Linked DNA regions of Homo sapiens: region 2 is linked to region 1. Evidence: promoter capture Hi-C in 16 types of primary human blood cells and fetal thymus (Javierre and others, 2016). All regions are on one chromosome and are shown on one strand. The core of a region is centred on a gene start or on the middle of the fragment in contact, and the rest is flanking DNA. Distances in the headings are between cores, read along the strand shown.

Region 1 (4,897 bases), core at 1,588-4,087:
TGTAGCTCAAAATTAAGCAGAGAAGCAGGCTTGGGGGAGCAGTGGGGACCTCAGGACGGCAGGAAGGGAGACACCTGCTTACCAGAGTCCTCTGGAGGGAGAGCATGATCGGACCTGCCCGGGGAGGTGTGGGTATGAGAGTGAAGACTCACCTCAGGGCAACGGACAGTCTTAGGCACAATTCAGATCCTATTTGTAGCAAAGTCACTTCATTTCTGATTTCGTTAATCAAATACAGTCTGCTGGATGATAAAAATGGTCCACAGCAATGGAGTGCTTCAGCTAGGTTCTTCGCCTCTCCCTTTTTATTAATTCTATTTAGAGGGGCTTTACCAGCTGCCATTTTTCACCCACAGGCTCCATTTCTGGGCTTAATGCAACAACCAAGGGTAGATTCCTGTACCCCTAGACCTCTGGCAACAGGCAATGTTGACTCTTCATCAACATTGGAAAGCAGGGTGGAGAAAGGACAGCCGAGCCAAGGTACCTACTGCGGCTCCAGGAGGTGAGTTCCTCGGAGCTGGTTTGCGTCGCTTAGCCCTGCATCCAGCACACATCTCTTTGTTCTTCTGTTTCCTGAGGCACCTCCCTCACCTCTTGCCAGAGCCCAGCTGTGGGTCTGGTGCAGAGAATTCAAAGTGGTGCTCAGATCTGCCCCAATCAGGCTCCAGGACAAGCTTCGGGAAAGTCTTTGGGGATGGGGAGAAGCAAGTAACCTCTGCCTCCCATGTCACATCTCCCTCCCAGAGGCCAAAAAGGCAACCCAGAGTTTGGCAAAACTAGGGGTTTGGTTGATTTTTTTACTCCCAAGGTTTGACAACCCAGGCTGTAGGCTGCGGGCCTGGGCTCTCAAGTCTCAGGAGAAGAACCTAGGTTGCCTCGTTTCCAGTGTGCTTGCAGTTCCCTGCAGGTTAGGAGTGTGTCCCAGGACAGACATCTTTCCCGTGGAACGGGCTGGCTTCGAGAATGACTGAGGAGGGTGATCCCCAGGGGCCAGCGCTTGCCTGTTTTTCAAACACACCTTCCCTCCTTCCCCTCCTATCAGGCGACTCTGCAGGGCTCCAAAAGCCGGGGGAGGCACAAATAGAGCTCAGGTCTGGCAGAGCCTGAAAAATCCCCCAAAGAAGGACAGCATGCCCTAGCCACAGTGCCGACCGCAAGGCCCCAATCAGCAGTGCCAAACTTTTCTTGGAGATGTGCTGCCGGTGAGGCTCTTCATAGGGACTCTGCCATCATGGGTATGGGGGTATCAAACACACACTAATGAATAAACCTCTGCTCAGATTCATAGGGCAGGAACTTCCCCCACCCCACAATGAATCAGACCAGTTCCTGCTCCCTCCTCTTACTTCCCCCTGTACTTATCTCAGGGAGTCAGCAAAGGGGGTGGGGGCGTCTGTGTCTGTCTCCCTCTTCTATGTGTCTGTCATTTACCTGGGTAACTTTGGTGCCTGGCACCCTTTAAGTGCTTAATAACAGCGAGTGCTTAAGAAAATGCCTGCTGAATGGACAACCTAACTCATAAACCCCATTGGTGGGAACCTGCATTCCTCAGTAATGTCGGATCAGTGTTTCTCAACTCCTCCCCACCCTACCCCATCACCCGCCCCTAAGGAGCTTTGAAAAGATCTTTTCTTCCTATTCTAGAACCAATTCCAGCTTCCACACCTCCCACCTTGAGAAGGAATGCATTAGATGAACCAAGACTTCTGCCTATATACATGGGCTGCTACAGTTGGCCACCCCGGCAGTCTGCGGCCTCCCAAGCGGGGGCCTGGGTCTTAATCCTTACTTCTCTCTAAGCTGCATGAAGGGTGCCCCCATTCCATCCCTCTTCACTTCTCCCCAGCATAGCGCCTCCATAAATGTTTGTGAACTGGATGAATGACTGTTGAGCGCTTGGTATGATGAGCTGCTTACAATAGGTGCTCAACCAATCTTTGTCCAATCTATGAATGAATGAATGAACTTCACCCTTTTCCTTCCATACCTCCGGGCTGAGCCTCTCTCCCACATGGAAACCCTAAGGCTGAGACCACCACCTTCCTACCAGTTCCTGGGGGTGCCCAGTGAACTGTCTCAGTATCCCCAGTGCCTAGCACACAGTAGGCGCTCAATAAACGCTTGCTGTGTTCATAATGAATGACTCAATCAGGCCCACGGTGGGGGTGAAGGGGGGCTCCATACTGTGCCTAAGGATACAGTGAATGAGCAAGTGACACACACTCCCCCACCCCAATCCCTAACTCTCCTTCCTCCCAGGATCGGGGGAGAAACCTCGGCCCACAGCCGGGATGCGCCCCCGCCGGGGTCACCGCGGCGGCGAACGTCCCGGACTTCGCATCCCGGTGACCCCTTGGGATGAACCGAAGCCGGACCCGCACCTTGGCCGTAACAAGCGCGCTCCACGCCGCCACGCACCAGCGGTGACTCCCGAGTCCTCTGTCGCCCTGGCCTCCCCGCAGGCGGGTTTCGAGGCCCCCGCAGGGAGTTCAGGGCCACGGCCACGTGCAGCCGCCCCCGAGCCCGAGTTTGCAGGCTCGGGGTCCGGTTCGCGCTTCGGTGGCGCCCGGCGAGGCTGCAGCGCGCAAAGTTCCCACCTCAAGTTCCCGTCGCGGCGTCCCCGCCTCGGAGTTGGCCCGGCCGCGGCTTCCGTTCCCCCCGGCTGCCCACGGGTCCGGGGCGAGGACGCGAGAGGGGCCTGGAAGTCGCCCGGGGAGCCCGCTCTGCCTCCCGGAGCCGCCGCCAAACTTCGGTCCCGGGGCCCGGCTCAGCTCCCGCCCTCGGAGCCACGGCCGCCCCGTCTCTGCCTCCCGGTCCCCGCCGGGCTCCGAGTGCGCCGGGAGCGCGGCGCAGCAGCCGCCGAGGGAGGGAGCGAGGCAGGAGGCGGGACGGAGGGAGGGGACTGAGCGCGGGGCGGGGAGAAGGGGCGGGCAGCCGAAAGCGCAGCGCCTGGCCTCGCCTCGCTTCGGGACAGTGGCAGCGGCGCCACCGTCACGGGGCGTCCAGGCGCCCAATCGGGACCCCGCACCTTGGATCCGGGGGCCCTGGCGCGCCTGCTGGATTGCGCTCCTCGCGGCCAGTTCCTGAGCCCGCGTCCGGGACTGCTCGCGCTACGCCCTCCCTCCCGTTGCCTTCTTCCCCGTCTGCTCTCCCAGGAGCGACCACCCTGCGGCCCCTTCGCCTGCACGCGACAGCCTTCAAGGTCCCCGCGCTCCGCTGCCCTGGAGCTTCACGCACCAGGCGGCGCGGCAGCCTCCTAGGGTCGCGCGCCCTGTCAGCTTTCCCCGCGGTGCAAGTGCTCCGGTGGTCCCGGGTCCGCGCCCCTAGCAGCACCGCCCCAGGGTCTACATGTGCTAGATATTAAAACCCCACTCTCCGCTGCCCCGGGGCCGCGCTCCACGCGCTTACACATCCTGGGAACCACATGCGCCATGTCTCCTGCCTTTCCCTGGAAGTCCTGGAAGTCCAAGTGCACTGCTGCCTCTGGGTCCCTCGCCCCCCTACCCCGGGCAAATACTGCATCCTTGAGGCCCTCCACGCGCTGCTGCCCTGGAGCCGAACGCTCCAAGCAAGCTTCCACATCCTGGGGGCCATATATCGCGCGCCTTTTCTCGACCTCCTAGACCAATGTTGCCCTTGGGCCCTTCCTGCCACCGCCACCCAGGGACTGCCAGCATCTTGCTGTGCCAAATTCCTAGGGCCAGTACGTACCGTGCCAGGTGTTTTCCCTTCCAGTCCCGCGGGGCCGAGGCCCCAGAGCCCTCCCGGGCTAGCAGAGCCGCACTTCGTCGTCCACTCCCCTGGCCGGTGCAGGGCACTTGGACCAGGTCCTGGGGTCTTGCTCCCAGTGTGGCCGCCTAGCCTCGGAGTTGGTAGGATGCTGCACAGATGCTGGAGGTTGGGTTGGAGGGATCTATTGGGTTGGAGGAATCTACTGAGTTGGAGGGACCTATTGGTTTGGAGGGATCTGTGCTGCTGGCAGGGCTGGCCTCTTAGGGTGGCTTGCCTTGCACTCCGTTCCTCTTCTCCTTTCTGTCTCTTGCACTCCGTTCCTCTTCTCCTTTCTGTCTCTTGCACTCCGTTCCTCTTTTCCTTTCTGTCTCTACTGCCTTTGCCTATCATCAGAGAACCAAGAAAGGACATGAAGAAACCCTGCTGCCGACCAGCCTGAGGCCTTCTGCTTGAGTGGGGCTCGGGTTGGGGAGTCGTGGGTGCTCATTAAGTGGGTTAGGGTTAACCCTAAGAAATGAGCGCAGGGCACACTAGCCTGCGCGGCAGTCCCAGCCGGGTGGAGCATAGGAGTTCCAGGTTATAGTGCACTATGATGGCACCACTGCAATCCAGCCTGCGTGACTGAGCGAGATCCAGCCTCTAAAACAACAAGAATAAAAACACTGGCTTACTGGTGAGGTGGAGGCCTGGACAGACAAGGATCTGCCTAAGGACCTGTTTCCAAGAGCTCACCTTCTACTGGGGGCTTGGCAGAATTGGGAAACTGCTGAAATACGTGATTGCAGAATGAAGCCAGAGAGGCCACTTTAGATAGAATAATGGGGGAGGGCTCCTGTGGAGGTGATGGTTACATGGAGCCCTGAGCCAGAAGGAGCCCATCTGGCAAGATGGGAAGAGAGCTTTCTAGGTGGACAGAACATCAAAGGCACTGGCCTTCAAGCAGGAGAGAAGGAGGCATGTCTGAGAAACATCAAAGAGACCAACCAGCAGTGTGGGGGAGGGGCCTGAGTGGGGTGGGGTGGGCTTTTGTTGTCAGAGGGTCCCTGGATTACATATTGAGAAACACTCCTCTTGTGGTGGATCAGGCTTCTGCCTTCCTTTCCCATCTGAAATTTTTTTTTTTTTTTTTTTTTTTGAGACATAGTCTCTCTGTGTCTCCCAG
Region 2 (4,765 bases), core at 1,262-3,761, 170 kb after region 1:
CATTAAAAAAAAAAAAAACAAACCTTGAGGCTCTCATTTCTGTCCTTTCCTCCCATCTTAGCTTTTGTTAATCATGTCCCCAAAGACCTTTTAAAAAGGAGAAATGGCAAATGATCTGGCTTTTCCAAACCACTGGTCATCTCTGGTATGAACTGTTTGTATGTTTGAGAAGCTGGAATTCCACAGATGATTGATGGGCGGGGAGGAGAGGTGTAGAATTATCCAGAGAAGCAGAGGAGGGGGTGGCTTGAAGCTGGAATTCCACAGACACTTGATGGGCAGGGGGGAGTGGTGTAGAATTATCCAGAGAAGCGGAGGAGGGGGTGGCTTGTTCTCTGCCTCTTTTATGCAGCAGAACTTTCAGAAGGGAAAAAGCGTGGGTGTTGGGAATTCCTAATGGCAAGAATTCATGGAAACGTCATGTTACATATCTGCCGCTGTGGGTGCTGAGCAGAGCGGCAGATGGGGCCGGCGCGGAAATAGTCATATTCCGCCACTTCCTAGTGTGCCAAACACTCATCACTCGCGTCATCTCCCTGGACTGTCACAGCCCCTTTGTGAGGAAGGCAGGACCAGAAGTCACATCTCATTTTGCAAATTCCAGAACCGAGACTCAGATGCCAGGTGACTTGCCCAGGGTCCCCACATCAAGAGGCAGTGACATGAGTGGTCCTGGGACTTAAGCCACAGTCTTCTGCCCCTTGCTTTTTCTGCTATAGCACGGGTTGGGCCTGTGGTGTGATTTGAACACTACTGGGGAATCTGTATGGGGTTATGGCCTGCCTGTCCTGCAGCAAGGTTGCTGGAAACTTCCTTGGGGTCAGGTCTGCACCTCATGCATTGGGTATCACTCCCTTCCCTGCTTCCCTTGGTGCCTAGAACTCATTCGACGTCCAATCTCAGGCAAATGCCTTCTTATCTCTGTGTCACCTCTGTTTCCTCATTTGTCAAATGGGCATAACTGTCACTGTTCATGTGCTCAACACACAGGACAACTCTTTTGTCTCTCTCTCTTTTTTTTTTTTTTAAATAGACGTGGGGTCTCGTTATGTTGCCCAGGCTGGTCTCAAACTCCTGGGCCTGAGTGATCCTCCCACCTTGGCCTCCCAAAATGCTGGGACTATAGGCATGAGCCACCACACCTGGCCCAGGACAACTCTGTTAATTGAACCATCGACTACCCCCCTCTTATCATTGAGAAGGAACCATTGGATTGGCAACACAGAAGTCACTGGTGACCTTAACTAAGGCTGTCTCCTTGTGAATGGGGAAGAATGCCCAATGGGAGTGGGCCCAAGACACAATGTGGGGAGGCGACCAGGAGGCAGCAAATAGAGTCCGCTGTGATAAGGTGTTCATCTGTCAATGGGATCAGAGAAGTAGGATAGTAGCTGAGGGTTCACATGGGTCTGGCAAGGATTTTTTAAATGGCAGGCAAAGCTTTCAGCTGGAAGTGAGAATGCAGAGTTGGGCTGGAGAGGAAGAGGAGCAGAAATAGCCTCTAAGACCTAATTTTTGGTTACTGTGAAGATGAAAAGATATGACCTACAGAAAGCATCTGGCGTTGCTTGATTTGGTCACAGAGGGAAAGGAAAGGACTGCCTGGGATTTTAAATAACATATCACGGTGTGTTAGTACACATTTCCATCTAGGCTTCCCCTGTTGCTAAGGAATAATTAAATAATTTAAATACTTTTAAATAATTGAGAGATTCCCAGAATCTTTATTTCAGCCCAGTATGTCCCATGCATCTGTGCATTTTGGTCTGTGCGTGTGTTTTGATAGTAAAAGGAGACATGAGAGTCTCTCTTTCCAGATGAGTCCAGTCCTACACACCCTCCCCAGGACGCCAGGGGTATCTGGGGCTTTTTCGTTTGCTGGTGACCAAACCTGTCCCTGGCTTCCATCTTCAGTTCTTCCCAATTCTTTAATCCCTTAGTCCAGGCTTTGCTCCCTCCCTTCCCCTCCAGCCGACCCACCACCCCCGCTCATCCAGGTCTCCATCAATTCTCAGTTGATCTAATAGAAGTGCCTCCCCAGCCTCCCTGACTCCAGTCTCTCCCTGCCCCTATTCATCCTGCTTAGTAATGTTGAAATCCGGCATTGCTCGTGCTGCTAAAGAACACTAGTGTCTTTGGTTCTGCAAGCATAAAATATAAATGACCAGGCCTCAGTTCACTTCATTTCCCCAGACATATGCTGTCTCGGAGAAGGCAGATCTTGTTGTTCTCGGAACACCCTGAGTTCTTTTCATTTTAACTTTTTTAATGTGTTCCCATTGCTCTTGGGATAAAACTCAAACTCCTCACCATGTCTTTTCAGGCTGATGGCATCTGCACTCTGCCCACTTTTCCAACAACATCTCCTGCCCCCATCAAAGTAAGCAGTTCGTGCCTCAGGACCTCTGCACTGGCTGTTTCTTTGTCCTGGAATTCTCTGTCCCATCTCTTCACATGCCCGGGTCTTACTTCAGCTTCAGTGAGACTCCTCCAAAAGGCTGTTTCTTTGCAAGCTATTCCACTGCTCCGGTTTATTTTCTGACTGTCATTTTGTTCACTTGCTTCGTGGAATTTGACACAATTTGAAGTGGACTTGCTGCTGTGTCATCTGTCCTCCCACTGGGTGCCAGCTCTGTAGGGCAGGAGCTCTTCCCTCTCTTGGCCACTGCCAGCTCCCCAGTGCCTAGAGCAGGGCCCCGACCGAGTGGGAGCTCAGCAGTATTGTTGAGTGGATGAACATCCCTTGCCCTCGCCCGTCACCGCACCCCTGTGCAATCTGTCCTGTCTGTTTTGTTCACTACTGTGCCCCCAGTACCTGAGACCGTGTCTGGCACATAATGTTTGCTCAATAGATAATCCTTGAAAGACAAGTTGAATTAAAAACGCACATCCAGCCCCACTTGACCCCGGAATTCAGCCTTGACTGACTTATACGTTGCTCATTTCCTCTCGGGTTCATCACCAAATGGGGCTCTTTTCCTGCTGTTTATGAAGTCACCAACTGCAGATACTTGAGAAGGGCTCCACCGGTTTTTGTTTTTTGTTTTTTTGAGACAGAGTCTCACTCTGTCACCCAGGTAGGAGTGCAGTGGCATGATCTCGGCTCATTGAAACCTCCGCTTCCCAGGTACAAGCGATTCTCCTGCCTTAGCCTCCTGACGTAACTAGGATTACAGGCATGGGCTATCATGCCCGGTGAATTTTTGTATTTTTATTAGAGATGGGGTTTCACCATGTTGTTCAGGCTGATCTCGAACTCCTGACCTCAAGTGATCCACCTACCTTGGCCTCCCAAAGTGCTGGGATTACAGGAGTGAGCCACCACGCCTGGCCACCGCTCATAAACTTCCATGAGAAAAGCAGTGTTAGCTCCATCTTACAGGTGAGGAAGAACGAGGCCAGGGAATCCTGTAACTTGCCCTCCAGCCCCGTAATTGCTGAGAGGTGGAGTCATTCATTTGTGGAGCGTGATGTTGCCTTGGTGTTGCTGCTGGGAGGAGGGAACACATATGAGCCTGTGAGTCTTTGAAGGGGAGTTCCAGGCACTCCAGGTCCCACGGAGACAGGGAGGTTCCTGGAAATGAAGCTTACGCTTGAAGGATGAGAAAGTATGAACCACGCATGGTGTAGGTGTGGACCGGGAGTGAAAGGCGTTCCAGGCAGAGAGAATGGCGTTTGCAAAGGCCTCAAGCCTCAAGAGCTCAGGGACCGCTGGGGGGAAAGTGAGCAGAGGAGAGGATGATTTTTTTTTTTTTTCCCGACAGCAACTTTCCTTTTCATAGCCAATTATATTAAGATAGAATTCACATGCCATAAGATTCCCTCCTTTAAAGTATAGAATTCAGGAGTTGTTAGTACATTCACAGTAGTGCAGACATAGCCACTATTAATTCCAGAACATTTTTCGGTATCCCAAGAAAGAAACCCTGTGCCCATTGGCAGTCACACTCCGTTGTGCCAACTCCCTCAACCCTTGGCAACCACGATCCGCTTTCTGTATCTATGGATTGGCCTATCTGGACATCTCACATAAATGGAATCGTAGTCTTTGTGACTGGCTTCTTTACTTAGCAAGTGTGTTTTTTATTTGTATTTTTTTAATGTAGTAAAATACATGTAACGTCAAATTTACCATCTTAACTTGGTGGTTGTTACTATCATTGCTCAGGCTGGAGGGCAGTGGTGCGATCTCAGTTCGCTGCAATCTCCACCTCCCAGGCTCAGGTGATCTTCCCACCTAAGCCTCTGAATAGCTGGGACTATAAGTGCATGCATCACCGCACTGGCTAATTTTTGTATTAACTTTGTATAAATTTTATAGAGATGGGGTCTCACCATGTTGTCTAGGCTGGTCTCGAACTCCTGGGCTCAAGTAATCTGCCCACTTCAGGCTTTCAAAGTGCTGGGCGAACAAATATCTGTTCCAGTCCCTACTTTCAGTTCTTTTGGATATATGTTTACGTAGAAGTAGAGGGAGGATGACTTTTTAAAGTAAAAGCCCTCCTGCCATTTTCTTAAAAATGTTTCCCCTAGGACAGCTTGCCCCGTCAAACAAAGTGCCCCCTTGTAGCACTGTTTAATTAAATGACTGCAACCAGTGTACCGTGTGCACATCCAGGAACGTGCCATGTGCCCTTCCTCTCCTTCATAGAGCTGGGAACACTTCGTGGTTGTCGCTTAGTTGGTCTGGTGAGATGAGAGGAATGGCTCTGTGTTGACGGCGCTGGCCACTTCCAGGCCTTCCTCTTCTAAGTCAGGGCTGCAT

What was found. Contacts are between HindIII fragments. The CHiCAGO score rates a contact against its expected background, and 5 or more counts as called.
Region 2: a contact is called between a fragment that was not itself captured here and the fragment with the promoter of KCNG1 in region 1, in 1 of 17 cell types (endothelial precursors). The highest score is 5.3, in endothelial precursors.

Annotation. Positions count from the first base shown.
Region 1 is chr20:51,020,270-51,025,166 of GRCh38, forward strand. KCNG1 (potassium voltage-gated channel modifier subfamily G member 1) reads right to left here and starts at 2,838. Exons shown (of 3, transcript NM_002237.4): 1 at 2,601-2,838. RefSeq lists an enhancer at 479-1,042 and a silencer at 2,767-2,936. The HindIII fragment of the contact is 2,899 bases long and covers 676-3,574 here.
Region 2 is chr20:51,190,638-51,195,402 of GRCh38, forward strand. No RefSeq gene overlaps it. Among named protein-coding and RNA genes, the nearest start is that of KCNG1, 170 kb to the left of the region's middle. The HindIII fragment of the contact is 2,146 bases long and covers 1,439-3,584 here.